7 separate regions of the Homo sapiens genome follow, and all the other regions are linked to region 1. Evidence: promoter capture Hi-C in 16 types of primary human blood cells and fetal thymus (Javierre and others, 2016). All regions are on one chromosome and are shown on one strand. The core of a region is centred on a gene start or on the middle of the fragment in contact, and the rest is flanking DNA. Distances in the headings are between cores, read along the strand shown.

The links. Contacts are between HindIII fragments. The CHiCAGO score rates a contact against its expected background, and 5 or more counts as called.
Region 2: a contact is called between a fragment that was not itself captured here and the fragment with the promoter of CDK4 in region 1, in 1 of 17 cell types (monocytes). The highest score is 7.5, in monocytes.
Region 3: the fragment with the promoter of PMEL here is called in contact with the fragment with the promoter of CDK4 in region 1 in 1 of 17 cell types (monocytes); the score reaches 5.2 in monocytes.
Region 4: a contact is called between a fragment that was not itself captured here and the fragment with the promoter of CDK4 in region 1, in 1 of 17 cell types (monocytes). The highest score is 7.3, in monocytes.
Region 5: a fragment that was not itself captured here is called in contact with the fragment with the promoter of CDK4 in region 1 in 1 of 17 cell types (monocytes); the score reaches 5.9 in monocytes.
Region 6: a contact is called between a fragment that was not itself captured here and the fragment with the promoter of CDK4 in region 1, in 1 of 17 cell types (monocytes). The highest score is 5.6, in monocytes.
Region 7: the fragment with the promoter of SARNP here is called in contact with the fragment with the promoter of CDK4 in region 1 in 2 of 17 cell types (activated CD4 T cells and total CD4 T cells); the score reaches 6.2 in activated CD4 T cells.

The regions. Positions count from the first base shown.
Region 1 is chr12:57,751,060-57,754,907 of GRCh38, reverse strand. It overlaps CDK4 (cyclin dependent kinase 4), which reads left to right and starts at 2,598. Exons shown (of 8, transcript NM_000075.4): 1 at 2,598-2,733; 2 at 3,172-3,408; 3 at 3,566-3,701; 4 at 3,818-3,848. The coding sequence starts at 3,191. RefSeq lists silencers at 1-42, 2,149-2,268, 2,499-2,578, 3,309-3,448 and an enhancer at 2,239-2,972. The HindIII fragment of the contact is 8,675 bases long and covers 1-3,848 here.
Region 2 is chr12:55,913,794-55,917,557 of GRCh38, reverse strand. The region is part of intron 1 of PYM1 (PYM1 exon junction complex associated factor); the gene reads left to right. It overlaps LOC124902941 (a long non-coding RNA gene), which reads left to right. Exons shown (of 2, transcript XR_007063325.1): 2 at 3,192-3,732. Among named protein-coding and RNA genes, the nearest start is that of PYM1, 12 kb to the left of the region's middle. The HindIII fragment of the contact is 1,939 bases long and covers 1,151-3,089 here.
Region 3 is chr12:55,964,471-55,967,936 of GRCh38, reverse strand. It overlaps PMEL (premelanosome protein), which reads left to right and starts at 1,895. Exons shown (of 11, transcript NM_001384361.1): 1 at 1,895-2,001. The coding sequence starts at 1,926. CDK2 (cyclin dependent kinase 2) reads right to left here and starts at 1,107. Exons shown (of 7, transcript NM_001798.5): 1 at 813-1,107; 2 at 3-80. The coding sequence starts at 928. RefSeq lists an enhancer at 1,337-1,416. The HindIII fragment of the contact is 16,386 bases long and covers 1-3,466 here.
Region 4 is chr12:55,798,798-55,802,228 of GRCh38, reverse strand. SARNP (SAP domain containing ribonucleoprotein) reads left to right here. Exons shown (of 11, transcript NM_033082.4): 3 at 1,329-1,375; 4 at 1,600-1,667. Among named protein-coding and RNA genes, the nearest start is that of SARNP, 17 kb to the left of the region's middle. The HindIII fragment of the contact is 8,110 bases long and covers 1-3,431 here.
Region 5 is chr12:55,980,193-55,984,058 of GRCh38, reverse strand. The region is part of intron 1 of RAB5B (RAB5B, member RAS oncogene family); the gene reads right to left. It also overlaps the pseudogene LOC100131294. Among named protein-coding and RNA genes, the nearest start is that of RAB5B, 8.0 kb to the right of the region's middle. The HindIII fragment of the contact is 281 bases long and covers 1,367-1,647 here.
Region 6 is chr12:56,008,839-56,012,520 of GRCh38, reverse strand. LOC105369781 (a long non-coding RNA gene) reads left to right here. Exons shown (of 3, transcript NR_135023.1): 2 at 843-982; 3 at 2,250-2,429. It also overlaps a transcript of IKZF4 not described here. Among named protein-coding and RNA genes, the nearest start is that of IKZF4, 10 kb to the left of the region's middle. The HindIII fragment of the contact is 1,691 bases long and covers 618-2,308 here.
Region 7 is chr12:55,815,911-55,819,595 of GRCh38, reverse strand. SARNP (SAP domain containing ribonucleoprotein) reads left to right here and starts at 1,872. Exons shown (of 11, transcript NM_033082.4): 1 at 1,872-1,930. The coding sequence starts at 1,895. It overlaps ORMDL2 (ORMDL sphingolipid biosynthesis regulator 2), which reads right to left and starts at 1,555. Exons shown (of 4, transcript NM_014182.5): 1 at 1,484-1,555; 2 at 423-597; 3 at 103-254. The coding sequence starts at 596. The HindIII fragment of the contact is 4,326 bases long and covers 1-3,019 here.

The DNA of each region.
Region 1 (3,848 bases), core at 1,349-3,848:
GGGTGGAGGAAGGGGAGTGGCCAAGGAAGGGGAGTGTGCACACAAGTTGACTAGGTGTGTGTCTGGGAGTGGGGGATGAGCGGGTGAGCATGGAAGGTGAGTGGTTAAATGACGCAGGTGTACCAGGGAGGGTGAGGCTTGTGCAAAATGGGAATGTGCAAAGAAAGAGCTGTGCAAGTGTCGGAGGTGTGAGGGAGGTACATGGGCAGGGGTGGGACTCAAGCAATATACACTTTACCCAAAGGGCTGAAAAGTGTGATCGATGGGGACTGGGAAAGAGAGGTGTGTAAGGAATGGAATCGGATTGTCTGAGAAACAGAAGCCTGTGATTGTAATGTGTGAAGGAGGTGAGGGAGGGAGCAGGGGAGGTAGGCGTGCTAAAGGGATGGGAGTGTCTTTCCTGGTACTCTCCTGCCCTCACCTCCACTACACTGAAGTGAACAATACACACACTTACCCCTTTCCTTTTATGGAGACTTCCCTCTGAGGCCAAGTTCTACCCCCATCACATTTTTTTCTTTCTTACACTTACATTCTCCCTCTCCTCCCCTTTGCAAAGCTGAGGGAAAAGGGATTCCAGGGGAGCTCATTGGGTCAAACATACTGGGAAAAAATTTAATTAGTGAAAGAGTAATTAACAGAAGAAGGGAGGGGACAGAGCCTGGGACAGACTGCCAAATTAAGGTTCCTCAATAGAAAGTGATGGAGAGACAGTAATGTTCCCATGAAGTATTCAAATGTTTTGGATGGACTAATGAATGAATCAGAAAAAGGGGCTGGGACCCAAGCAGACAGAGAGGACGTCTTCTGTTGCAAAGACAGTAAGCTGTGAAGGTCTTATGTGGAAGGTGAGGCTGAAGTGGGGAATGCTGGTGTGGGAAGGGAGTTTGAAAAACTCACAGACAATTATCTTAGCCTTCCAGAAGGCTTACAAAGCACCCACCCCTAGCAAGGTAGCCAATAAAACATTCACCTCTTGAGCCCCTTAGTCAGTTCAGTCCTTGAGGTTTTTCTTACTAGTGTTCCAGCTGCCCTTGCCAGGAGGGGCCCAGGGCTACAAGTATCAGGATGGAAAGAGGAGGCATCTGTATTAATATGTATTCTATTTTGCTCTAAGTCATGGTTTATATTCATCTTCTAGTTTGAACTCTTATATTCTCAGCCAGATGGTTAAGGAAAACAGAAGTTAGAGTGGAAGGAGTGGCAAATAGGGTAATAAAATGGCTTTAGATTTTAGACAAATTCTCACAAATGAGACACTAACCGCTTTCCTCCTTTACTCCCATACCCCCAAAGGGCTGGGAGATAAAGACCTTGGAGCCAATAAAACAAAGTAGGAGAAATCTACTTGTGTCTACCTAGGTGTCTGGGCAGAGGCCATTTGGGAACAAGTGTGTTCTGGACAGTGCTAAGTGCTAAGAAAGCGGCACTAGGGAAAAAGAGGGAAGCACAATAACTCCAAATGAGTAGTCACAAGGTTTGCAGAAGGGGGCATGTCATTTTCATTCATTGTGGTGGTCTGGAGGGTGCAGGGGGTGTGGTGGTAACTTTCTTGCACATGTGCAATCCTGTATCCGTCTTATATATGATGTGATAAATAATATCATATACATACATATATACATAGAAGCATATATGCACACATACAAATATCACATAATCATAGAACCTTCCTACTGGAAAAAAAAAAAAAACTTAAAAGGTCAAGTATTCCTGTCTCCTGCTCATCAATAACTTCTCTGCCAGATGGCCTCAGGTCTTTGCATTAACACTCCCAGGGAGGTTTGGAAGTTGGAAAAGTGAGAGGATTACCTTGTCACTGAGCCTGTTGGATTACTGTATTAATCTGCCTTCCGTCATCCTTTAATCGTAGTTTTGCCCTCAAATGGGCATTGTTTACTCCCTATTGTAGAAGACCCCATTGTTGGCTACATCTTTATAGATAGTCGTACCACTACTTTAAAGGGCCAGTGACAGACACCAAAAACAAAATAAAAACCCACATACACACTGGAAGCAAGCACTCAGTAAAATGTTGTAGAATTAATGAATGAAACAATGACACAAATGAGAGTATGTTTTCTCATGGTGGAGCGAAAAGGTGACAGCATCACCTCTGGTACCCCAACTCCCACCCCCTCCCCAATGCAGACAGGCTGAAAGACCGGTAGTGAGACTGGAGTTCAGCCTTCAGACCGGTAGTGAGACAATCCTTCAGCCGGGAGTTGGGCTCTGGGTGGCCTAGGTTGCCATGGCACCGCCTCGGGCTCCACCCTCTCTTGTCCCCCTCACCGCTCCCCCCCTGCAGCGGGGGTTGTGGCAGCCAGTCACGTGCCCGCCGCGTAGCCACACCTCTGCTCCTCAGAGCAATGTCAAGCGGTCACGTGTGATAGCAACAGATCACGTGGCTGCCATCGCCCCTCCGCCCCCTTACACTCTTCGCCCTCCTCCCAGTCGAAGCACCTCCTGTCCGCCCCTCAGCGCATGGGTGGCGGTCACGTGCCCAGAACGTCCGGCGTTCGCCCCGCCCTCCCAGTTTCCGCGCGCCTCTTTGGCAGCTGGTCACATGGTGAGGGTGGGGGTGAGGGGGCCTCTCTAGCTTGCGGCCTGTGTCTATGGTCGGGCCCTCTGCGTCCAGCTGCTCCGGACCGAGCTCGGGTGTATGGGGCCGTAGGAACCGGCTCCGGGGCCCCGATAACGGGCCGCCCCCACAGCACCCCGGGCTGGCGTGAGGTAAGTGCAGTCCCTTCCCAGGAATGAGAACCAGTGCCCGCCCCCCTCACAGCTTTCCACGCGTTCGTTTCGCGAGCTGGTTATGGAAGGGTCGCTCAAGGGCGGGAAGTGGGGCCTTTGTGGTCATGGGAAAGTATAATTTTAGGGACTGAGGTGTAGGATCTTCGATGCAAGGCATGTGTCATGTGTGATCTTTGTGCGGGGCGCGATTGTCCCAAAGGAAAAAGCGTTTTCTATTGCAGGGCCTCACGTGGCTGGAGGGGTTGGTATTGAGTCATTGTGTTATCTCTGGGGCCGGCCCCAAGGAAGACTGGGAGCGGGGGATGGGATGCTGGTGGTGTTCTTTGCGCTTTTTTTTTGGGAGTCCCTTTGTTGCTGCAGGCTCATACCATCCTAACTCTGTAAGCGACTTTTGGTGATAGGAGTCTGTGATTGTAGGGTCTCCCTTGATCTGAGAATGGCTACCTCTCGATATGAGCCAGTGGCTGAAATTGGTGTCGGTGCCTATGGGACAGTGTACAAGGCCCGTGATCCCCACAGTGGCCACTTTGTGGCCCTCAAGAGTGTGAGAGTCCCCAATGGAGGAGGAGGTGGAGGAGGCCTTCCCATCAGCACAGTTCGTGAGGTGGCTTTACTGAGGCGACTGGAGGCTTTTGAGCATCCCAATGTTGTCCGGTGAGAAGGTGGTGGAGGGTTGGGCGTGGGGAGTAAAGGGAAAAGACAGCCTATAGGTGGGGTGTGATGATCTGTAGAGAAGTGGGGACCCTGAGGAAATAATGAGAGGCCATGTTGGGTTAAAGGGGATTGAAAAGTGAGCATTTACTCTGGTCAGGCTGATGGACGTCTGTGCCACATCCCGAACTGACCGGGAGATCAAGGTAACCCTGGTGTTTGAGCATGTAGACCAGGACCTAAGGACATATCTGGACAAGGCACCCCCACCAGGCTTGCCAGCCGAAACGATCAAGGTGAGTGGGGTTGGTAGGCATTGAGAGGTGGATTGGGACCTTTGTAGTAGAACCTTCTGGGATTTCAGGTATGGTGCCTAGTTTCCAGTGCATCTGTACCTCCCCTTTGAAACTAGGATCTGATGCGCCAGTTTCTAAGAGGCCTAG
Region 2 (3,764 bases), core at 871-3,370, 1.8 Mb after region 1:
TGGTTTTCTGTTCCTGTGTTAATTTGCTTAGGATAATGGCCCTCAGCTGCATCCATGTTGCTACAAAGGACATTATTTTGCTCTTTATGGCTGTGACAGACTACTTTTTATTTAATTAATTAATTTTTTTTTGTTTTGAGATGGAGTCTTGCTCTTGTTGCCCAGGCTGGAGTGCAATGGTGCGACCTTGGCTCCCTGCAACCTCTGCCTCCTGGGTTCAAGTGATCTCTTGCCTCAGCCTCCCAAGTAGCTGAGATTATAGGCACCCACCACCACGCCCGGCTAATTTTTTTTATTTTTAGTAGAGACGGGCTTTCACCATGTTGGCCAGGCTGGTCTCGAGCTCCTGACCTCAGGTGATCCACCCGTCTTGGTCTCCCAAAGTGCTGGGATTGCAGGCATGGTGAGCCACTGCGCCCAGCTGACAAACTACTTTTTAAATTTTTTTTTATTTTTGAGACAGAGTTTCACTCTGTTGCCCAGGCTGGAGTACAGTGGTGTGATTGCAGTTTACTGCTGGCTTGACCTCCTGGGTTCAAGTGATCCTCCCAGCTTAGCCTCCCAAGTAGCTGGGATTACAGGTGTGCGCCACCATGCCCAGCTAATTTTTGTAGAGAAGAGGTTTCACCATGTTGCCCAGGCTGGTCTTGAACTCCTGGATGCAAGCGATCTGCCTGCCTCAGCCTCCCAAAGTGTTGGGATTAGAGGCATGAACCACCACGCCCAACCTCAGACTACTTTCTTTTTTTCTTTTTTTGAGACCGACTTTTGCTGTTGTTGCCCAGGCTGTGGAGTGCAATGGCCTGACCTCGGCTCACCGCAACATCCACCTCCCGGGTTCAAGTGATTCTTCTGCCTCAGCCTCCCGAGTAGCTGGGATTACAGACATGTGCCCCACACCTGGCTAATTTTTGTATTTTTAGTAGAGACGGGGCTTTCTCCATGTTGGTCAGGCTGGTCTTGAACTCCTGACCTCAGGTGATCCGCCCGCCTCTGCCTCCCAAAGTACTGGGATTACAGGCGTGAGTCACCGTGCCTGGCTGACTACTTTTAAATGTAGTATTATCACATGCTATGTTTTTGCCCATACCCTCTAGTGAAACTGGGCTGTATGGCTGATGTGGAACAGCAGTGCGATGGTGTGTAAGCTTTGGCATCAGACTTGAGTTCAGGTTACAGATATGTGCTACCTTTGGGATCTTGACCATGTCTTTTTTTTTTTTGAGCTGGAGTCTCACTCTGTCACCCAGGCTAGAGTGCACTGGTGTGGTTTCAGCTCACTGCAACCTCTGCCTCCTGACTTCAAGCAATTCTCCTGTCTCAGCCTCCCGAGTAGCTGGGATTACAAGCATGTGCCAGCACGTCTGGCTAATTTTTGTATTTTTAGTAGAGATGGGGCTTCGCCATGTTGGCCAGGCTGGTCTCGAACTCCTGACCTCAGGTGATCCGCCCGCCTTGGCCTCCCAAAGTGCTGGGATTACAGGCGTGAGCCACCGCACCAAGACTTGACCATGTGTTTAACCTCTTGAAGACTGTTTCCTTGGCTGTAAATGATGATATCTATCTATCGTTTAGATTTAACAGGATGATGTATACAAAGTTCCTCCTGTAATGTAGCTACTTATTAATAAATACTCTTTACTAATCATTCTTAAATACTGAGTTTTCCACTGCTAGGATTTTGCTTTTGTTGTTCCTCTTATCCCCTTTCCCTTTTCTCTGCCTGCAGAAATACTGGCTGCTGATTTGTTGTTATCATTAATTATTACTACTTTCTAGTCTTTAGTGTCAAATGAGGTTTTCCTGATTATCTCCTGTCATCTCTTAGGATACTTACGACACTCTTACTTTTGTCTTATGCTTTGCTTGCCTAATTTGCCCACTTCCTCCTTACTTAGTCTGTAAATTTTTTGAAAATTGGGACCATCTTACTCATCTTGATAACCCTATTGGCACTTACGGTACTTTTCTTCTAGGAGGCTTTTTTTTTTTTTTTTTAAAGATAAACTCTTGCTCTGTCGCCCAGGCTGGAGTGCAATGGCATGATCTGCAACCTCTGCCTCCCAGGATCAAGTGATTCTCCTGTCTCAGCCTCCCGAGTAGCTGGGATTACAGGTGTGTGCCACCAAGCCCAGCTAGGAGGCTTTTAATGTTTATTTTGTTTAATTTGTAGTCTGGCCTCTTTACCACCGTGCTTTTCTGAGGCTGTATTTGTGGAGATAACCAGGGATTTCCAAAATGCCAAAGCCAGAACCTTTTTCTCAGTTCTCCTTTCCTTGATCTCTCTGCAGTATTTAATACTGTTAATCACCTACCTTTACTTTTTTTTTTTTTTTTTTTTTTTAGGCAGAGTCTTGGACTGTTGCCCAGGCTGGAGTGCAGTGGCACGATCTTGGCTTACTGCAACCTCTGCCTCCCGCCTTCAAGGGATTCTCTTGCCTCAGCCTCCTGAGTAGCTGGGACTGCAGGCATGTGCCTCCATGCCCGGCTAATTTTTTCTATTTTTAGTGGAGATGGGGTTTCATCGTGTTAGCCAGGATGGTCTCCATCTCGTGACCTCGTGATCCACCCACCTCGGCCTCCCAAAGTGCTGGGATTACAGGTGTGAGCCACCATGCCCGGCCATCACCTACCTACCTTTATTTAAAACTGTTGGTCTCCATGGCTTAGCATGTCCTGGTCTTCCTTTCCTATGAATCATTTCCTGTTGTTGCTGTCACCTTTTCTTCCTTGAGGGAAATGATTATGATCATTATTTCAGGGTCATTCCTCCAGCTCTCATCTTCTCTTTGTTATATTTTCTCTGTGTTGGAAACCACATCCAGGTCTTATTTTGGCCCTGAGATCATCCGCAGGCTGAGACCTGTGACTTAGATCTCTTTTCTTATTTGAAAAAGGTCTCATACCTTTAACAACCATGTCCCCTACCTCTTTGGAGTTCCTCCATGCCTTGCTATGTTGTCTTTTCACTGTCTACCTGCAACCCCTGGAAACAAGGACCCTTTCAGTGTAAGAGTTTTTATTGCTGACAGACTTAAGGAAATAGATTGAGAATTAAAAAACGGCAGATGTGAGAAAATGACAAAGCTTAAAAAGATTCTTACAGTAGCAGTCCCCAATCTCTAGTTTTTGACTCTCTGCAAGATATTATCTGAAAGTCCTGATATTTTGCCCTTGGTTTTTATTTCTAGGGGTGGGAACCGCCAAACCTCTCCCTTCTTTTTGACTTCACCCTTGGATACCATCAAGGCCAGAGGATGGAACCAAGATAACATAAAATAGGTGCTCCTTTGTGATAATGGGCTATTTGTATCTCTGAGGGCTTCCACACAGGATGGCCATTCAAGAAGCTTCTGCTCTGCCTTTCATTACAGTCTATCTTTAGTCCTCCTAAACCTTCAGCTATAATCTCTATGCAATCAACTTAAATATATGTTTGTAGTATTGTCCCTTTCTCCCAAATTCCATGTAAAACACTTGCCTGAATTGAATTGTTTCCACAAAGTTGTTTTCCCCTGTGGACTTTGTTTATATCAGTAGTTTTTATTTTCCCAATTTTCCAAATTCAAGAGTGATAATTATAAATAGTTGTGTTCTTGTTTGTTATCTTTCTCACTAGAATGTATACTCTAAGAAGGCAAGAACCTTGCTTGCTTTATTCATTGTTGTATTCCTAGCTTCTGTTACAGTGTCTGGCACAAGAGTAAGTGCTCAATAAAAATTTAAAATCCACGTGTGAATAAATGTGATTACCATGTGCCCTA
Region 3 (3,466 bases), core at 646-3,145, 1.8 Mb after region 1:
ACTTGACAATATTAGGATGGTTAAGCTCCTTAAGCAGAGAGATCTCTCGGATGGCAGTACTGGGCACACCCTCAGTCTCACTTGGAGAGGTTGGGAAAGCAGAGATGGGAATATGGTTACAAATATTCCTTTCCCCCCCACCTAGTCATTTCTTTCCCCCAAGGAGACACCACCCAGCACCCCCTAGGAAAGTGAGAGAAGAGAAAGGGTGATGGTAAGAGCTAATTCTTGGGTAGTCAGGGTGTGGTTTTTGGATATATTAAGGCCATTATCTCCTCTTTTCCCAGGGGTAGGTAAGTAAAGCCGCCTGGTGAAGGTGAAGCAGGGAGACTGTAATGGAGGGGAAAAAATGCAGGAGTAGCCCCCAGCCTCCCCAGAGGGGCCAGTGAGGTTCAACTGCCATTCTTTGGAAAGAGGAGAGAATTCTAAGGTGAGGGTGGGGCAGTGAAGAGGGCTCTTCATTCAGAAAGGCGATTCTCGCCGGTTCCCACATAACTCCACTCCATGGAGAGTCTTGGACCTCATCTCAGAGACCTCCTTTCTCTCCCCGAGTCTGTAGTCGCACATTTGGGGGCACGATCCGGCTCAGTTTGGGAAGAAAGTTTTCCATGGATTCCACACCACCCTATACTCTCCCCAGGGAGTATAAGTATACTCTTCACCTTCTACTGGCCCCCAACCCACCTCTCCACTTCTAAAGAAGTCCCTCCCTGCTCTCTTCCGGTCCCTGGACGGCTACCCGCCCGTGGGGGGTTGGGGGGGACAATCAAGGAGGTCCCCAGTTAGGAGTCCCGGGTACAGAGGCCACTCACGTGTCCAGGCGGATTTTCTTAAGCGCCACCACCTCTCCCGTCAACTTGTTTCTGGCTTTGTACACAACTCCGTACGTGCCCTCTCCGATCTTTTCCACCTTTTGGAAGTTCTCCATGAAGCGCCAGCGAGTCGGGTCAGCCCGGCCCTGGAGCGGGGGCCTGGGAACCCTGCAGAAGGCGGACCCTGGCTCTCGGGGGCCGAGGAGGGGGAAACAGGGCCCAGTACCGTGGCCCCGGGTCGGGATGGAACGCAGTATACCTCTCGCTCTTGTCAATTTGGCCAACTTGAAACAATGTTGCCGCCTCCCACCGAGTTCCCGACCGCCACCAGAGGCCCCGCCCCTGCTTCCCGCGTTTCCCTGGCTCCGCCCCCAGGCCTTTCTATTGGTCAACGTCAGAGCCGGGGGGCGAGCCCAGCGCTCCTCCCCGCAAATGATCCCGCCCCAGGCAAGTTTGGTTCTTGGGGGCTAGACAAGTTTCTTCCCCGGTGGGGCGGCTGAACACTCTTCCCAAGTACCTGCTTTGGGTCCAAGTTTCCTACCTATGTCTCTAGTCTGTAGGGATTTCTTGATTTCTAACTCACTATTTTCACCAATCCTGGGGAAAATATGTATCGACCTAAGGTTAAATTCCACCTGGCCCAGGAGCCTCCTTTGGAAACCAGGAAGCCGGGAATCTCGTTGCAAAGGAATCCTGGGCCTCAGAGGAGTCGTTGCCTCTGCCTCATAGCATACCCCGACACTGTCTCTGTTTTGGGATGCAGGGTTCTGTTTCTGTCTTTTTGAGAAGTTCCTGGTTTAATTCACTCTCCCATGATAAACTGTTGTGTCTGGTATGTGTTACGCAGCTGCCTTTCAGTTAGCTCTTGCCCGGGAGTGCATCAAGATGAGAGTGACCCAGTGAAACCAGAAACTGTCATTGAGTAGCAGGATGGGAAAGCAATGTCTAGGGACCAGGATCCCTTTGTCAGTTTTTCCTTTTTCCTCTCCTCCGGCCCCTCCCAGGCCTTCTCTGAGGGAGAAGAGGAAGGGCTATGCAAATGAGCACCCTTTTCTTATATAGGGGCCTATCCCAGTCCCCCCAGTGCCTTTGGTTGCTGGAGGGAAGAACACAATGGATCTGGTGCTAAAAAGATGCCTTCTTCATTTGGCTGTGATAGGTGCTTTGCTGGCTGTGGGGGCTACAAAAGGTATGTGTGGATATGTGGACATGAGCAGGTGTGAACTTGGGGATGAATTCCCCCTGCTCTGGTTTCTGTCCTCCTAATGGGAGATAGCGGCAATATTTCAGGCGTCTCCCACTCATTTGATTTAGTGAGGATGTGGGCACCTGGGCTCCCTCCCTACATGGAGATTTGGGATTTTGCCTGAAAATAATCTCATATGCTTGGAGGGGCAGAAGGATAGAAGGTCTCTGTGGCACTGATTCTGAGGCTTCCTTGGCAGTGAGCTGGAGCACGGGCTCCAAAGGGGTGAAATGTGCAGGAGACTCTTTTAGGAAACGTCTCTTGGGGTAGGAGATTTAAAGTGGGGAGTCAGAGAATGTGGTATTGGGTAAGAACACTAAGGAGATACAATCCTCTCCTCTTGGGATGGGTACGGGTGAACACAGCCCAGACCTTTTGTTCTGGGGCTGGAGAGATAGGCAGAGGGGTCTCAGCTGAGCATCACATGAAAGGGCTCTGGGGGATTGGGCCTCGTGACAGGAGCAAGGGGCGGGGGTGGGGTGGTGAGAGGGTCTGGAATGTCCCGTGCTGCTCTGAGGAGAGTTGGAAGTGGAGAAAGAATGGGGTATCTTATGACTTCTCTTGTTCTAGTGGTGGGATGCTCAATAGATGATTCCAGATCCTCCCCCAGCAGAATCAACTAGGGTTACAGCACACATTAGAAAGGGAATGAGGCCGGGCGCCGTGGCTCACGCCTGTAATCCCAGCACTTTGGGAGGCTGAAGCAGGTGGATCACGAGGTCAGGAGTTCGAGACCAGCCTGGCCAATATGGTGAAACCCCCGTCTCTACTAAAAGTACAAAAATTAGCTGGGCATGGTGGCACATGCCTGTAGTCCCAGCTACTCAGAAGGCTGAGGCTGGAGAATCACTTGAACCCAGAAGGCAGAGGTTGCAGTGAGCCAAGATCACACCAATGCACTCCAGCCTGGGTGACAGAGCGAGTCTCCGTCTCAAAAAAAAAAAAAAAAAGAAAGGGGATGAGGCCCGGCACAGTAACTCATGCCTGTAATCCTAGCACTTTGAGAGGCTGAGACGGGTGGATCACTTGAGGTCAGACCAGCCTGGCCAATATGGTGAAACTCCATCTCTACTAAAAATACAAAAATTAGCTGGGCATGGTGGTACGCACCTGTAATCCCAACTACTTGGGAGGCCGAGGCATGAGAATCGCTTGAACCTGGGAGGCAGAGGTTGCAGTGAGCCGAGATCACACCATTGCATTCCAGCCTGGGCAACAGCAAGACTCTGTCTCAAAAAAATAAAAAAAGAAAAGAAAAGAAAAGAGATAAGGAGGCCGGGTGTAGTGGCTCACACCTGTAATCCCAGCACTTTGGGAGGCCGTGGTCATAGGATTGCTTGAGCCCAGGAGTTCAAGACCAGCCTGAGCAACATAGTGAGACCTTGTCTCTACGAAACGTAAAAAAATT
Region 4 (3,431 bases), core at 644-3,143, 2.0 Mb after region 1:
GTGACTAAGGACTCCCAAATTATTTTCCAGAATTGCTCTGTAGATCTGCAGTCTCATTACTAGTACATAAGGGTTCTTGTATCTTCACAAACCTAAACTTGGCACTGTCCTATCAAGTGGCCTAAGTTTTGCTAATTTGTTGGCTGTTTTATGTTCTCCATGAAAAAAGTTTAAACATTTCACAATTCTTTGGGTTTCTTCTTTGCCCATTTTTCTGTTGAGGTTCCCATAATTTGCCTGTTGGCTTGCAGGCATTTCTTTTATATTCTAATAACTATTGTTTTGTTGATTTTAGGCACAAATATCTTCTTTGGCTGTGCGGGGTGGTTCATGCCTGTAACTCAGCACTTTGGGAGGCTAAGGTGGTATGATCTCTTGAGGCCCGGAGTTTGAGACCAGTCTGGGCAGCATAGTGAGATCCCATCTCTAAGAAAAATAATAAAATTAGCTGGGTGTGGTGATGTGCACCTGTAGTCCTACCTACTTGGGAGGCTAAGGCAGGAGGATCCCTTGAGCCCAGGAGGGGGAGGCTGCAGGGAGCTGTGATTGTGCCATTGCACTTTATCTGGGCGACAGAGTAAGACTCTGTCTCAACAAAAACAAATGTCTTGTCATTTGTCTTTTAAGTTTCTTTGTGCTATCCTTAAGTAGAAGTACTTAGTTTTGAAAAATCTTCAATTTTTCACCTCTTACTTTTGGTTCTGGGTTGTTTTTCTTTTAAACAAATCTTTCCCCACCACTAAATCTCAAAGATACTTTTCCACATACTTTTTTTGTTTGTTATTCAAGACTGGGTCTTGCTCTGTCACCCAGGCTGGAGTGCAGTGACATGATCTCAGCTCACTGCAGCCTCTGCCTTCTGGGTTCAAGTAATGTTCCCACTTCAGCCTCCCCAGTAGCTAAGACTATAGGCGCACACCCCCACACCCAGCTAATTTTTTTATGTTTTTTGTAAAGACGGGGTTTCGCTGTGTTCCCCAAGCTGGTCGCTTGAACTCCTAGGTTCAAACGATCCACCTGCCTCTGCCTCCCAGATTGCTGGGATTACAGAGAGCCACGGTGCCTGGCCCAACATTACTTTTAAAATTAATTCTCTAGTTTGACTTCACATTTAGTTCTTCAGTCCAACTGGAGTTCACATTTGTAATTAATGTTAGGTAGAAATCTGGTTTTATCTTCTCCAGATGTAGCAGATTTTATGTGCATCAGTTTCTGCCTTCACTGTTGGATTTTTTGGGGGAAAGCAAAGTGATTATAATTTTAACCTTGGTAAGTGATCAAGATGGTTTTGTAGCAGGGCTTGACCTGAATATTTTAATATTCTTTAGCTGAAGAGGAGGCAAATGAAGAAGATGTACTGGGAGATGAAACAGAGGTGAGTTGGATAGAGTAAGGTTAGTCTCTGGTAATGTGCCACTGCTTTGGCCACATTGCTTTAACATCAGTCATTGGAGGACTTAGATGTAAATTTATTAGGGGAGCATAAGATGGGTATGAAGGTTCTGAGAGACTGGTTTATTTTGGAGTTCTGATGTTCTTCTTTTGATAGATATTTATTCTTTAGATTTATGTTAACCACCTTGTTTCATTTGGTTTTAGGAAGAAGAAACAAAGCCCATTGAGCTCCCTGTCAAAGAGGAAGAACCCCCTGAAAAAACTGTTGATGTGTAATTATCCCTTTTTTATAATCTGAGTACAGAGCAGGCAGCTCTTTTCTTAATGTATTTAATGTTTAACTTTGTTTACCTCTTACATGTTCCCATTGGCCTTTTCCTTTCTGATTAGGTCATTTTTTTGTTTTTTAGAAGGGACTACTTCAAAGTACTTGGTCCCAGTGAAGTAAAGCAAATTGTCTCTGAGTTATGTAATAGGTAATGAGGACCAGGTGACTTCAAGACCAGACATAGTTTAATTCTCCTAGCCTTTGTTGTTCTTTTGTAGGGTCACCATAATAGATTATTCTGTTACTCTATAGAGAATCTGTACAATTCTGTATGCAGTGTAAAACTGTGTAAACTCTGTTAACTTTTTTTTTTTTGAGACAGGATCTCACTCTGTTGCCCAGACTGGAGTGCAGTGGCGTGATCTTGGCTCACCGTAACTTCTGCTTCCCAGGCTCAAGCAATTCTCCTGCCTCAGCCTCCCGAGTAGCTGGGATTATAGGTGTGTGCCACTACTGCCCGACTGATTTTTGTATTTTTAGTAGAGACAGGGTTTTACCATGTTGGCCAGGCTGGTTTTGAACTCCTGACCTCAAATGATCCGTCTGCCTTGGCGTCCCAAAGTGCTGGGATTACAGGTGTGAGCCACCGTGCCCGGCCCATTCTGTTAACTGTTCATAAGAGTTTTGCACTTTTCTGGAAAAGTGTAAAACTGAGGCCAGGCACGGTGGCACACACTTGTAATCCCAGCACTTTGGGAGGCCGAGGTGGGTGGATTACGAGGTCAGGAGTTCAAGACCAGCCTGGCCAAGATGGTGAAACCCTGTCTCTTCTAAAAATACAAAAATTAGTTGGGCGTGGTGGAGGGCACCTGTAATTCCAGCTACTTGGGAGGCTGAGGCAGGAGAATTGCTTGAACCTGGGAGGTGGAGGTTGCAGTGAGCCGAGACTGTGGCACTGCACTCCAGCCTGGGAGCCACAGCTGTCTCGGGAAAAAAAAAAAAAAAAGTGTGACACTCTATATAAAGGAGTTTTGTAAGGGAGGAGGGTGTTGGGTAGAGGTTATGTTTCTGAAGTAGCACTCTGTTCTCTCTTGCTTTCTGATTTACAGTGGAGGATGGGAGGACAAAGTGCTAGAATGGAAAGTAGATCTTGATTTGTTTAAACTGTTCCACAAGGGTGATCCTAAACATCTTTAATTTGGGGCTTTTTCCACAAATGTCTGGCCATTTTGTACTATAGTACATTAAGAGCCGTTGAGTCCTAAACTTTGAACATTTTTGTTCCTCATAGTTGTGTTAGTGCATTTAATTATAAAAGGCAGTGTATTTACAAGTAAAAAGTCAGTACATAGTGGAGTATATCAATTAAGAATTAAGTACTCTTTGTATCCATTCTCAGATCTGACTTTACTGAGGTTTTTAGAACAGTACATACTTTTGGAAGATTTTATATATGGGGTCTGTACATGTGTATATGTATGTATGTGTATATATAGATACACGTATACACACACTGTGCACACTTGATTTTTTTTCACATCTGGAAATTTTTTATATCATCATTTTCTTATGTAAGTGTTAGTTATATGCTAGGCATTGTTCTTAAGAGTTATATGCTAGGCATTGTTCTGAATGTTTTACATGTACTGTCATTTTATCCTCAGTAGACCCTGTAAAGTCAGGATAATTATCCTAGGAAGTGGTCTCTTTTTGTTTAGCTTATTATGGGAAATTACAAGTATATACAAAAGTTCGACTAGTGTAATAG
Region 5 (3,866 bases), core at 258-2,757, 1.8 Mb after region 1:
CAGAGCAAGACTCCACCTGGGGTGGGTAGGGGGGAGATCGGGGGCAGGGAAGAAGCCACAATATGAAAGTGGTACAGAGAAAGAAAAAGAGAAAAAACAGGCCTGGCAGAGCGGCCCATGCCTGTAATCCCAGGGGTTTGGGAGATAAAAGGGGAAGCCTTGCTTGAGGTGAGGAGTTTGAGACCAGCCTAGGCAACATAGCGAGACTGAGTCTCTAGAAAACATTTAAAAAAATTAGCTGGGCATGGTGGTATGTGCCTGTAATCCCAGCTACTCCAGAGGCTGTGGTGGGAGAATCACTGGAGCCCAGGAGTTGAAGGTTGTAGTGAGCTGATTACACCACTGCACTCCAGCCTGGGCGACAGAACAAGACGCTATCTCTGGAAAAAAAAAAAAAAAAAAAAGGAGACATAACTAAAGGGTAAAGAGGAAGTTAGCAAAAGAATGAGAGGTGAGAACTCAAGGTCCCAAAGTAGACTAGATTAATACAGAGGAACATGACAATTACTTTGATTCTACTGGGTATTCTGTAGTCCCCTTGGTCAGTCAGTCTTAAAAATTCAGATATACATGTACCATTTTATGATTAAGTTTTCAATGGCCTATGACGAAAGGATCAAAATAAAGATGATACAGCAAATTTTTCATAAAGCTAAATTTATTCAATTTAAATGAGTATCTTTAATTATAACATTTTAAAATTTATTTTCCATTTTTAGAGAGAGTCTCACTCTGGTGTTTGAGAGGTCAGGAGTTTGAGACCAGCCTGGCCAACATATAGTGAAACCCCGTCTCTACTAAAAAATACAAAAATTAGCTGGGTGTAGCGCCACATGCCTGTAGTCCCAGCTACTTGGGAAGCTGAGGCAGGAGAATCGCTTGAACCCAGAGGGCGGAGGTTGCAGTGAGCTGAGATTATGCCACTGTACTCCAGCCTGGGCAACAGAGCAAGACTCCGTCTCTCAAAATAAAAAATAAATAAAAGAGAAGACAGGTGACACCATAATAAAAAAAAAAGGACAGATGATAAGCTGATCAAGTTTCCTTCAGGTGACATATATATGCTATACTCTCAAGAAACAATAGAAAAAGTTACTGGTTTTTTCAACTTACTCCCTTACATTTTTATGTATTTCAAAGCATGTGATCCAAGGGGTAGAATATTAAGCCTCAATGTTACTACTCTACAATAAAGGAAAATGTGGGAGTTAGAATGGACTGAATTCTCATGGCTAAACATATCACTTGAGCTCTGGGGGAGTGTAAAGACAGGAAACAATTGCAGACACGCTTGAGTTGCAAAGTCTCTGTCACTAACTCTCAGAGATGGGAAGTCAAGCCAGAGCCCAGATGTGGTCAGCAAGCTTTCTTGCTACTAAGCAACCTTGGATTCTCAGAGATCAGTAACTACTGACTTAGAAAAGACTACCTCGTACCCTAATATGTAGCCTTAAGAGTATGTTCTGGCTGCACATCATGGTTCACGCCTGTAATACCAGCATTTTGGGAGGCCAAGGCAGGAGGATCACTTGAGCCCAGGAGTTTGAGACCAGCCTGGGCAACATAGTGAGATCCCACCTCTGAAAAAGAAAGAATATGTCCTGCCTTCCTCCCTGTTCACAGCAATTGTTGAGCCACCTCTAAGCTTTGATCTTTAATCTTATCATGTTTATAAGGGTATCATTTAAAAAATATAATAGCTAGACTCTCAAAAATTCTGTGGTACAGAAATGAAATAATACATATAAGATTCAATTATTTATTTTCTATTCTCATTTTTTCCCACAAAAATACTAATTTTTTTTTTTTTTTTTGGTAAACCAGTCAAGTGGTATGATGATTATTACCTTCAAACCCGAGACAAAAAAAAGGGAGATGGGGCAGGTTTCTCTTCCTTTCAACCTTTTTAGCTCAGAAGAGAAGAAATCAGATTTAACTTCCCTTAGAAGTGCAGCTCTGCCGGGTGCAGTGACTCATGCCTGAAATCCCAGCACTTTGGGAGGCTGAGGTGGGCGGATCACCTAAGGTCAGGAATTCAACACCAGTCTGGCGAACATGGTGAAACCCCGTCTCTATTAAAAACACAAAAATTAGCCAGGTGTGGTGGCTGACACCTGTAATCTCAGCTACTTGGGAGGCTGAAGCAGGAGAATTGCTTGAACCTGGGAGGCAGAGGCTGCAGTGGGTCGAGACTTTGCCACTGCACTCCAGCCTGGGTGACAGAGCAAGACTCCATCAAAAAAAAAAAAAAAGAAGTACGGCTCTACAAGAATGACTTATAAAATGACCCATTAACTAGGGAGGATTGAGGCCTGACCATGGGTTAGCCCACTAGATGCAGGAGACCCATGGAGGATGTTCTTTAATGTGGGCAACTCTCCCAAGCAGTGCAGCAAAGTAGGCATAACAGTAAAAGTGTCTTAGCAGTCCCAGCTAGAGTAAGACTCCATTCCTCAAGCCCCCTTCCACTTGTTAGCTTTGAGTCCCTAAACCAAATACATATGAAGTCTCCAGAAGTCTATCACCTATCAACAGAGACAGAGTTCTCGGTATATATAGCCACTGGAGTCCAACCCAGTACCAGTTGTCAGCCTTAAGGTCAGTCAGGCAGATCAGAGCCAGTCTAGAGGTCATTTAGTCCAGTCTCTATATTTTATAGGTGAGGAAACCGAGACACATACAATTAGTCAATTTGGGCTAGGCGTGGTGGCTTACACCTGTAATCCTAGCACTTTGGGAGGGCGAGATGGGCAGATCACCTGAGGTCAGGAGTTTGAGACCAGCCTGGCCAACGTGGTGAAAACCTGTCTCTACTAAAAATACAAAAATTAGCTGGGTGTGGTGGTGCGTGCCTGTAATCCCAGCTACTCAGGAGGCTGAGGCACGAGAATTGCTTGAACCTGGGAGGCAGAGGTAGCAGTGAGCCGAGATCACACGACTGCACTCCAGCCTGGACAACAGAGCGATTCCGTCTCAAAAATAAATAAATAGCCCCATCCCTTCCCCGGCTCCCCCGGTGTCCGCCATGGCCAAAGCCTACGACCACCTCTTCAAGTTGCTGCTGATCGGGGACTCGGGGGTGGGCAAGACTTGTCTGATCATTCGCTTTGCAGAGGACAACTTCAACAACACTTACATCTCCACCATCGGAATTGATTTCAAGATCCGCACTGTGGATATAGAGGGGAAGAAGATCAAACTACAAGTCTGGGACACAGCTGGCCAAGAGCGGTTCAAGACAATAACTACTGCCTACTACCGTGGAGCCATGGGCATTATCCTAGCATACGACATCACGGATGAGAAATCTTTCGAGAATATTCAGAACTGGATGAAAAGCATCATGGAGAATGCCTCAGCTGGGGTGGAGCACCTCTTGCTAGGGAACAAATGTGACATGGAGGCCAAGAGGAAGGTGCAGAAGGAGCAGGCCGATAAGTTGGCTCGAGAGCATGGAATCCGATTTTTCGAAACTAGTGCTAAATCCAGTATGAATGTGGATGAGGCTTTTAGTTCCCTGGCCCGGGACATCTTGCTCAAGTCAGGAGGCCGGAGATCAGGAAACGGCAACAAGCCTCCCAGTACTGACCTGAAAACTTGTGACATAAAGAACACCAACAAGTGCTCCCTGAGCTGAGGACCCTTTCTTGCCTCCCCACCCCGGAAGCTGAACCTGAGGGAGACAACAGCAGAGGGAGTGAGCAGGGGAGAAATAGCAGAGGGGCTTGGAGGGACACATAGGTAGATGGTAAAGAGAATGAGGAGAAAAAGGAGAAAAGGGAAAAGCAGAAAGGAAAAGAAGGAAAAGAGAGGAAGGGAGAAGGGAGAGGAATGAATTGAGGAAGTGAACGAAGGCAAGGAGGTAG
Region 6 (3,682 bases), core at 214-2,713, 1.7 Mb after region 1:
TGGGTGGATCACCTGAGGTCAGGAGTTCGAGACCAGCCTGACCAAATGGAGAAACCCCATCTCTACGAAGAATACAAAATTAGCCAGGGGTGGTGGTTCATGCCTGTAATCCCAGCTACTCAGGAGGCTGAGGCAGGAGAATCGCTTGAACCCAGGAGGCGGAGGTTGCAGTGAGCCGAGATCGGGCCATTGCACTCCAGACTGGGCAACAAGAACAAAACTCCGTCTCAAAAAAAAAAAAAAAAAAAGTCATTTAACACATGCTTAATGTGGCCTAGGGGGTAAAAGGTCATGAGAAGAATATTGTTGGGAAAGATGGTGAAGGTAGAGAGAATGGCAAGGATCCATACCATGTTTTTGTTATTATTCCCAAACTATAACAGGCAGAAGTAGAAAAATTTTCTCCACTTTCCCTTAGTACCTGGGTTCTGCGGTGGAGAGCAGTAGTTATTAACAAGACAGAACTTCCCATGTGCCTTGGGTATGAGCCATTCAGGTGCTACAAGTAGAGCAAACCCACAGCATCATCCTCTACTGTCTATGCCTTCCTGAACTGAGTGAAATCTGAGCAAAAATATGTTGAAATCACATAGCTGGCTCTGCTCTCTATCAAAGCTTTGCATAATTGAGGAGGGAGAAGACGCAAAGGGGCCAGGGAAAGGTATGGAATTAGCCACTGTCTGCAAGCCCCTTTCCAGGAAAAAGACCTAGACATCAAGCAATTTGCAGCTCTGAAATTATCTTTAGGGTCAACCTAGTGCTCTCTGAAGGAAACCCACCAACCTTAGCTCAGCTCATGTGTTTGTCTTTACAGTGGAAAGGTCTGACTCATTTTTCACCAGGCTGTAGATGGTGACCTTCTGTCTACATATAATACAGTTGAAGACAGCTCAGCTTCATTATCCAAGTGCTTGGGGAGCAGTGCAGAGGGGATAAATTCCCAGGTCATCCTAGGAATGGCCAGTCTCTAAAATAAAAAGGGGTAAGAGCTGAAAACACAACACCTGGGCAGGGGGAAAATATCACCTCATTGTCTCCTTTTAGATCTCAGATGGATGCATCTTTTCTCTTGTTCTTTGCGCTTCTCTGTCCTCCCCATGTAGACTGCAGAAGAGAGAGAAGGCTAAGGTTTATGAGTGGGAGAAGAAACGATCCTATCCCTCCCATGTCTCATTTCAGGACATAAGGAACTAAGGAAAAGGGCCAAACTAAACACTTTAAATCACTAGATATGATACATAGGAGATGATACTTTTTGGGGTTTTTGGGTGTACCCCCAAGTATAGCTCTCTGTTTATAGAAAGGCCTCACAAAATCACTGCTGTTCAGTGGTATGTTTGGCAGGGGTGGAGAAAGTAGAGCAGGGAAATTCAATTTGAGTTTTATAATAATCAGTTTTAAAGCCAAAGATGCCCAAAACAGGGTTAGCACTCTCAAGTGAAGTTTGAAATTACAGGGAAGTCTCAGTGAACTATTCTGACTAGGGTACAGTAGCAAAAAAAATGTAGAAGAGACAGGAACAATTGCCTTTGATTGCAATTGTGCCCAAAAGTCCCTAATACATGCTGATCAAAAAAGTTCACTGTTGTTTGGGCCAGAAAGATGTTTTCAGGCTTCTCTGCTAATAGTCTTGCTCTGATAATCCAATTTGGTAAGACTCTCTTCTTCATGTGGAGGGTCTAGGGCAGGGGTACTCCAGGAACTGAGAAATCCTGGAGCTGAAATGGAGTTGAGAGATTATCTACAATTTCCTAGTTTTTAACAGAAGAAACTAAGCCCAGAGTCATCAATCTCATTAACAACAGAATTAGGACATGTAGAGTCCAAGTTACCATTAGAAGATTCTTTCCACTGGAACACTATATTAAATCTTGCCCCAGTTGGAAGATTTGGGCCACCCTGCTTGCCTTCTTTCTTGGGTTATTAAATGAATGGTTTTTGGGTCTGCGTCTTGCTGACCTAAATCCTTGAACTGGAAACACAGGCTTATGGATGGGAGGATAAATAATCCTCTTCCTCCTATGTCTCTTTTCAGAGATAATGGACCTGAGGAAAACACCAAACTAGATGGTCATTAAGTCTCTAAAGTAGAAACGGCCTCTTAGCTTGAGGACTACCCCAGCATAGGTATTGCATCAGAGCCTACAATGTGGATCCTCCCCGCAGCTGGACCAGGTCATTCATATCAGCACTACCCTTTCTTAGATGCCTTTGTCTGATAAACTTTGAACCTATCTCTCTGTTTCCAGAACAGAGTCCATAACTCTTCTAAGAAGAGGAAGCAAATCAAAGCCTGGAATTCAAAGCTTTCTTCAGCAGAGTCAACAGACCAATAAAGAAAGGGAGTCCCTCTGCCTGTGGCATTGTCCACACTCACAGGGTCCCACACTCTTATTTGTTCCTACAGAGTAAAACGAGGCTAGAAATACCTATCTTTCTTTTTCTTTGGTGTGTGTGTGTGTGGCGAGAGAGAGAGAGAGACAGAGAGAGAGATGGCCAGTTGGGGAAAAAAAATAATTCCTTTGTGGATACTACTGTGTGTGGGGGGGCAGGGGGTACGGTGAAAGGTGGGATAAGTTTCTCCCATGCTGGGAAGTTCAAGCTGCAGATTTCAAACTAAGAGGACATAAAGAGACTTTCAGTTGCATTTTCACTGGAAAAAAGTCAGGACTTATTTCTGAGCCAAGTCCTGAAATATGCCTTACCCTTAACCTACTCAGAGGAAGGGGATTGCCCAGAAGCTACAATTCAACTAACTAACTGCACTCAGTGGGCAACAAAGACATTATATTTTGTGTTTGAGACATCAACTTCTATTGACTAGGGCAAGGTATAATTCTGAAGCTGCCAAAATGAGGGCAGCTCTCACCATTCTGAAGCCCACCCCAGAAGCTCCAGTGAAACTTCTCTTGCTTCCCAATGGTAAAGCTATTTTCTTCTTTTAAGATTTTATTTTTATCTCAGGAGCTACTCATCTGACTGTTCTCATGACCCAAGGGTCTGTCTGGATTCTCTGGCTTTAGGCTGTTAGTAGGGAAAGCTGAAGTCCTCCTGCAAACCATAAAGCAAGATTCACGGACCTACTGGCAGGTCCATGGGGAGGTGAGGGATTACCATACACCCCAACCAAACGAAACACTATGCTTTCAAAGATTGTCTGATTTGGCCTTTTATCTGGCCTTGTCCTCAGAATCTGAGTTATCGTTAAGTGGAAATATTCTAGGTAGTCAGATAACATTTTCATGCTTCCTTAAGGATATGAACATGTATCTTCACCCAGGCAAAGTGAGCAAGTATCAGTAAGGGGAGACAGGCTTCAATGGTCATCTGGTTGACCATGACGTTGGAACATCTAAAGCTGACATGTGAGCATGTCAGGAACATACCATGCCCACCATTGATGCTTCGAGGGCACAGGCTGGGGAGACAGGCACAGTAGGAACTATTAGACATATAAGCGAGGGTTGACAAGAGTAACAACAATAGACAGTTTTGTTCATGAGAGAAGGGAATGGGGCGAAATAAGGTATGCAAAAAATTTTCTGGCCAGGCACGGTGGCTCATGCCTGTAATCCCAGCACTTTGGGAGGCTGAGGCGGGTGGATCACCTGAGGTCAGGAGTTCAAGACCAGCCTGGCCAACATGGTGAGACCCCCATCTCTACTAAAAATACAAAAAATTA
Region 7 (3,685 bases), core at 623-3,122, 1.9 Mb after region 1:
TAGATGAGAAGTCTGCTTTTTAACAGCTTCCCTATGGGCCTTTCTACCTGGCTCTTGGAGCTCTTTCTAACCCAGCATATCTCATTTCCCCCATAGACTCACAGCACAATAGGAGAGATGCTGAGGAACTTGCGGGAAGAGGTAAACTGGAGCCCATAGTCCATTTGCTCCCAGTGTGTCAGTAGCCGAGCCTTTCCTTGGTCAGGAGTCTCAAAGGGTGTCCCTTTCACCGTATGAAGGAAGACATACGTAGCCTGGGAACAGGGAAGGTGGCAGTGTGAGGGGCAGAAAGTAGTTTTTCAGTCAAAGAATTATGTTAAGATCCCAAAAGGAACACATAAATCCCCAAACAATTGGTGATTTTATTTTGCTTTTGGTTGGGAAACCCTGGGGTGGGTACAAGGGCGTGGTTTAGTGCTCACCAGGTTATGGATGACGTTGGTCAGGGTCCAGACAACAGGAATGCTGAAGAAGGGGATGCTGAGTAGAACCATATGCAGCAATCCTACCAAGATGATGTAGGCCAGCCAGATGCCTCGGCTATTCATCACTCGGGTGTTGGGGTTTACTTCGCTGTGTGCCACCCCCACATTCATCCTAGCCGTAATGGGGGATCAGGCAGGAGTCCAGCTCAGTTTTTTCTCAACCCCTCTTGAGCTATCTCCCAGTTGTCTCTCAGATAGCCCCAATCCCCTGAACTCTATTGGGAATGAAGAACTTACCCATCACGCAGAAAATAAAAACTGAAGACTTGGGGAAAACTTTAAAAGACAAGAAGAGTCCTCACTACATTTCAGAGACATAGTCATTATTGCTCTGATCTTTACACGTCAACTGTAACATGAAGGTGTATGTGTAGGCTTGGGGCACTCACTTCAGGGAGCAAGGGAAATAGGAGTATCTGACTTTGCTGAAGAAGTTAATAACCATGAAGAGGTCACGTACACCCAGAATTCCAGGCGAAAGTCATGGAATCATCAAAGAACCACTAAGAAGGGATGACAGAGTAAAGCTCACTCTGGTCCCCACTTTGTTCTCTGGGGCTTGTCCACCCTCTCTCTCACCTCCGTGGCATGTAAACAGTCTGCATCCCCATTACTTCTCTCAAGCGTGGGGCACGACAACAACTTGCCCACGGCTTCTGGACTGGGTTAGGAAGGGACCTGAGCTCAATACCTCGAAAGGTGGAGCCTTGGCTCTGACTCCAGGGGCAGCAGTGATTATCTGAACTCGGATCTTTAAAATTGTGGTAGCTCTAAAGCTGATGATGTCTGGTTAGGAAGCGGCTCTTGCCCGCCCCAGCCCCACCGCCAGTTCCTTAAGCCCGCCCCATGCCCCTCCCAGCTTCCTCCTCATGTTCATCGGTTTTTTCAGGGCTCCCTTCAGCGCTCCCCTCTCAGTATTTAGGTCACCACTCCCTCGGCGCCCCTTTCGCCTCCCACCATTTTTCCTCAGCAACCCTTACAGTCTTTGCAGCTCCTACCTGCCAGCTCAGATCCCCGTCCGGCTATGGGCGCGGCGCCGGCTACCACACCTGAAGTCTCCAGGAAGTAACGCCTCTCCTTCTGCCCCTTTCCTATTGGAGGAACAGAATCAGCGCTGCCACCACCCATTGGTTGGTGGTCTGTAATGCAGAAGCACAGTTGGTTGCCATTTCTGTCGTTCGCAAGATACAGTGCCCGCCCCTCTCCCAGTTCCACCTTTTGAAAGAGGTGGGGCAAGCTGCCTAGAGAAGTGAGAGCGACGTCAGCTATTGACCAATGGGAAGAGCTGATGGTATGGCGTGGGAGCAAGAGTGACAACGATTGGTCAGCCTTGCATCTCTACGCCTAAGGCGGGAGCTCCTGGAGGCGGAGGCCGCGGGTGGGGGCCTAGTGGAGTGAGGGGTAACAAGATGGCGACCGAGACGGTGGAGCTCCATAAGCTAAAGGTACCGTGAATCGGGGAAGGGCTGAGTTGGACTTTTCTAGGAACTGAATTCTACAGGGTAGCTTGCGCCTTCTCCTACGTCTTCTCCGTGCAGCCTTTTCCACTTCGTTTCTCGGCTCCCGCCGTAGCTCTTTTGTGCCACCCTTCCACACTACGCCTTCCCTAATTTCCCATTTCTCCTCACGGCTTTACTGCTATATTTATTTGTTATTTCTGCTTCCTTCATCATTGTATCGTCCGTCACCCTTCCCCACTGGGTTGTGTAAGTGCCTTCTACCTGTTATACTCTTCGTTGCTTTTCAGGGCTGCATTACGTCAGTTGGTCCCTCCTTTTTGCCCCATGTCGGAGCCAGGATCCGTTTTTCTTCCCTGGGATGATGTTTCCAGTCTGTCGTCCGAAGCTGAGATTTCCCTGTTAGCAAATGGTGGCATTTTTGTGTATTTCTGTCTAAATAGGTACCAGACACTCAGAAAATACTTCCACTCCCCTTTTCTAGGTGGGATTACGCCCCAAGCCGAATTTTGAAACAGGGAGAGGCCTCTCAGAAGATCGGTCTCGCCTTAGAAGCCTGGGGTTGAGGAGGTCTTGAGAATAGTAGAAGTACAGACACCTCAGATTTAAAAGTTTTCGAGTTCTGTCACGCGGCTCTCGGCCCGCCAGCCTTCCTCACACACCATCTCCAACCACCAGAGAGAACTCACACCTGCAATATTTGGGAAAAACAATTCCAAGGTTAAGATTATCTCTGTTCCATTTCATATCTCGGGTGGGCCCTGCATCTCCTGGTGTTACCATTGGCTGACACTGAATCACAGAAGCTATTTTAAATTGTCTTATGAGACTCTTGGTAGTTTTTTCACACTTAGATATATAAAAAAGTTAAAAAAATATATTAAAAAGAAGAACATTTTAAAAAGTATTTTCTTTTAGGGTAAATTAAGATATCTTGAGTAATTGTCTGTTTGTGGTTTCACAAGTAGTTTTCCCATTAGATGTTTTGGACAAACCAGGCTGATATAGCTGAAACTGAAAAGTGATCCTTTAAAGCTCGAAAAGTTTTTTTTTGTTTTTGTTGCTGTTAAGAAAGCTTAAGGGTAGTAAGGGTAGGGAGAGGACCCTTCTTTAGTCACTTATTAGTTGACCCCAATTAGTCTTTCTGTGAAACTGATGTTTTTCTTACTCTTGGATTCTAAACTCTGTTAGTGGGTTTTTGTGTTATTCTGGAGTTATTGTTAACTTGATGATACTGAAATGCATAGACTATATCAGCGGTCTCTTGATCTTTATTGTGATGAGTTAAAAAAAATTGAGCAATCATCTCCACTTTGTTTATATATACTGTACTTATAGAAATTGTATACTTCTGGACTGTTATAAAATATAACACAGAAAAGGAATTTTTGAATGAGATAAAAAGGAACTATATATAGAAGAGCTAATATTTTCTTCCTATTTGTCCTATTTTTGAAATCCCTGGAGTAAGTCACCAGCTGCCCGATGACTTACTTGCATTTATAGATTGTGTTGGTTTATGGAGTTCCTCCTTCCATCAAATCTGTATTTGTCAGGTCTATATAAAATTTGTATTTGATTGGATAAGTAACTTTTACGTAAAGTCCTCTGACCTGATTTCAGTGTTACAGTCTAAGAGAACATTAGGCACTCCTGACAGCCTAAAAAGGACTTGCTCTTTAATCACATTTGCTTGTCTTTGCTTTTTCTCTAGAGCACTTCTTAACCTTTTGGAGGTCACAG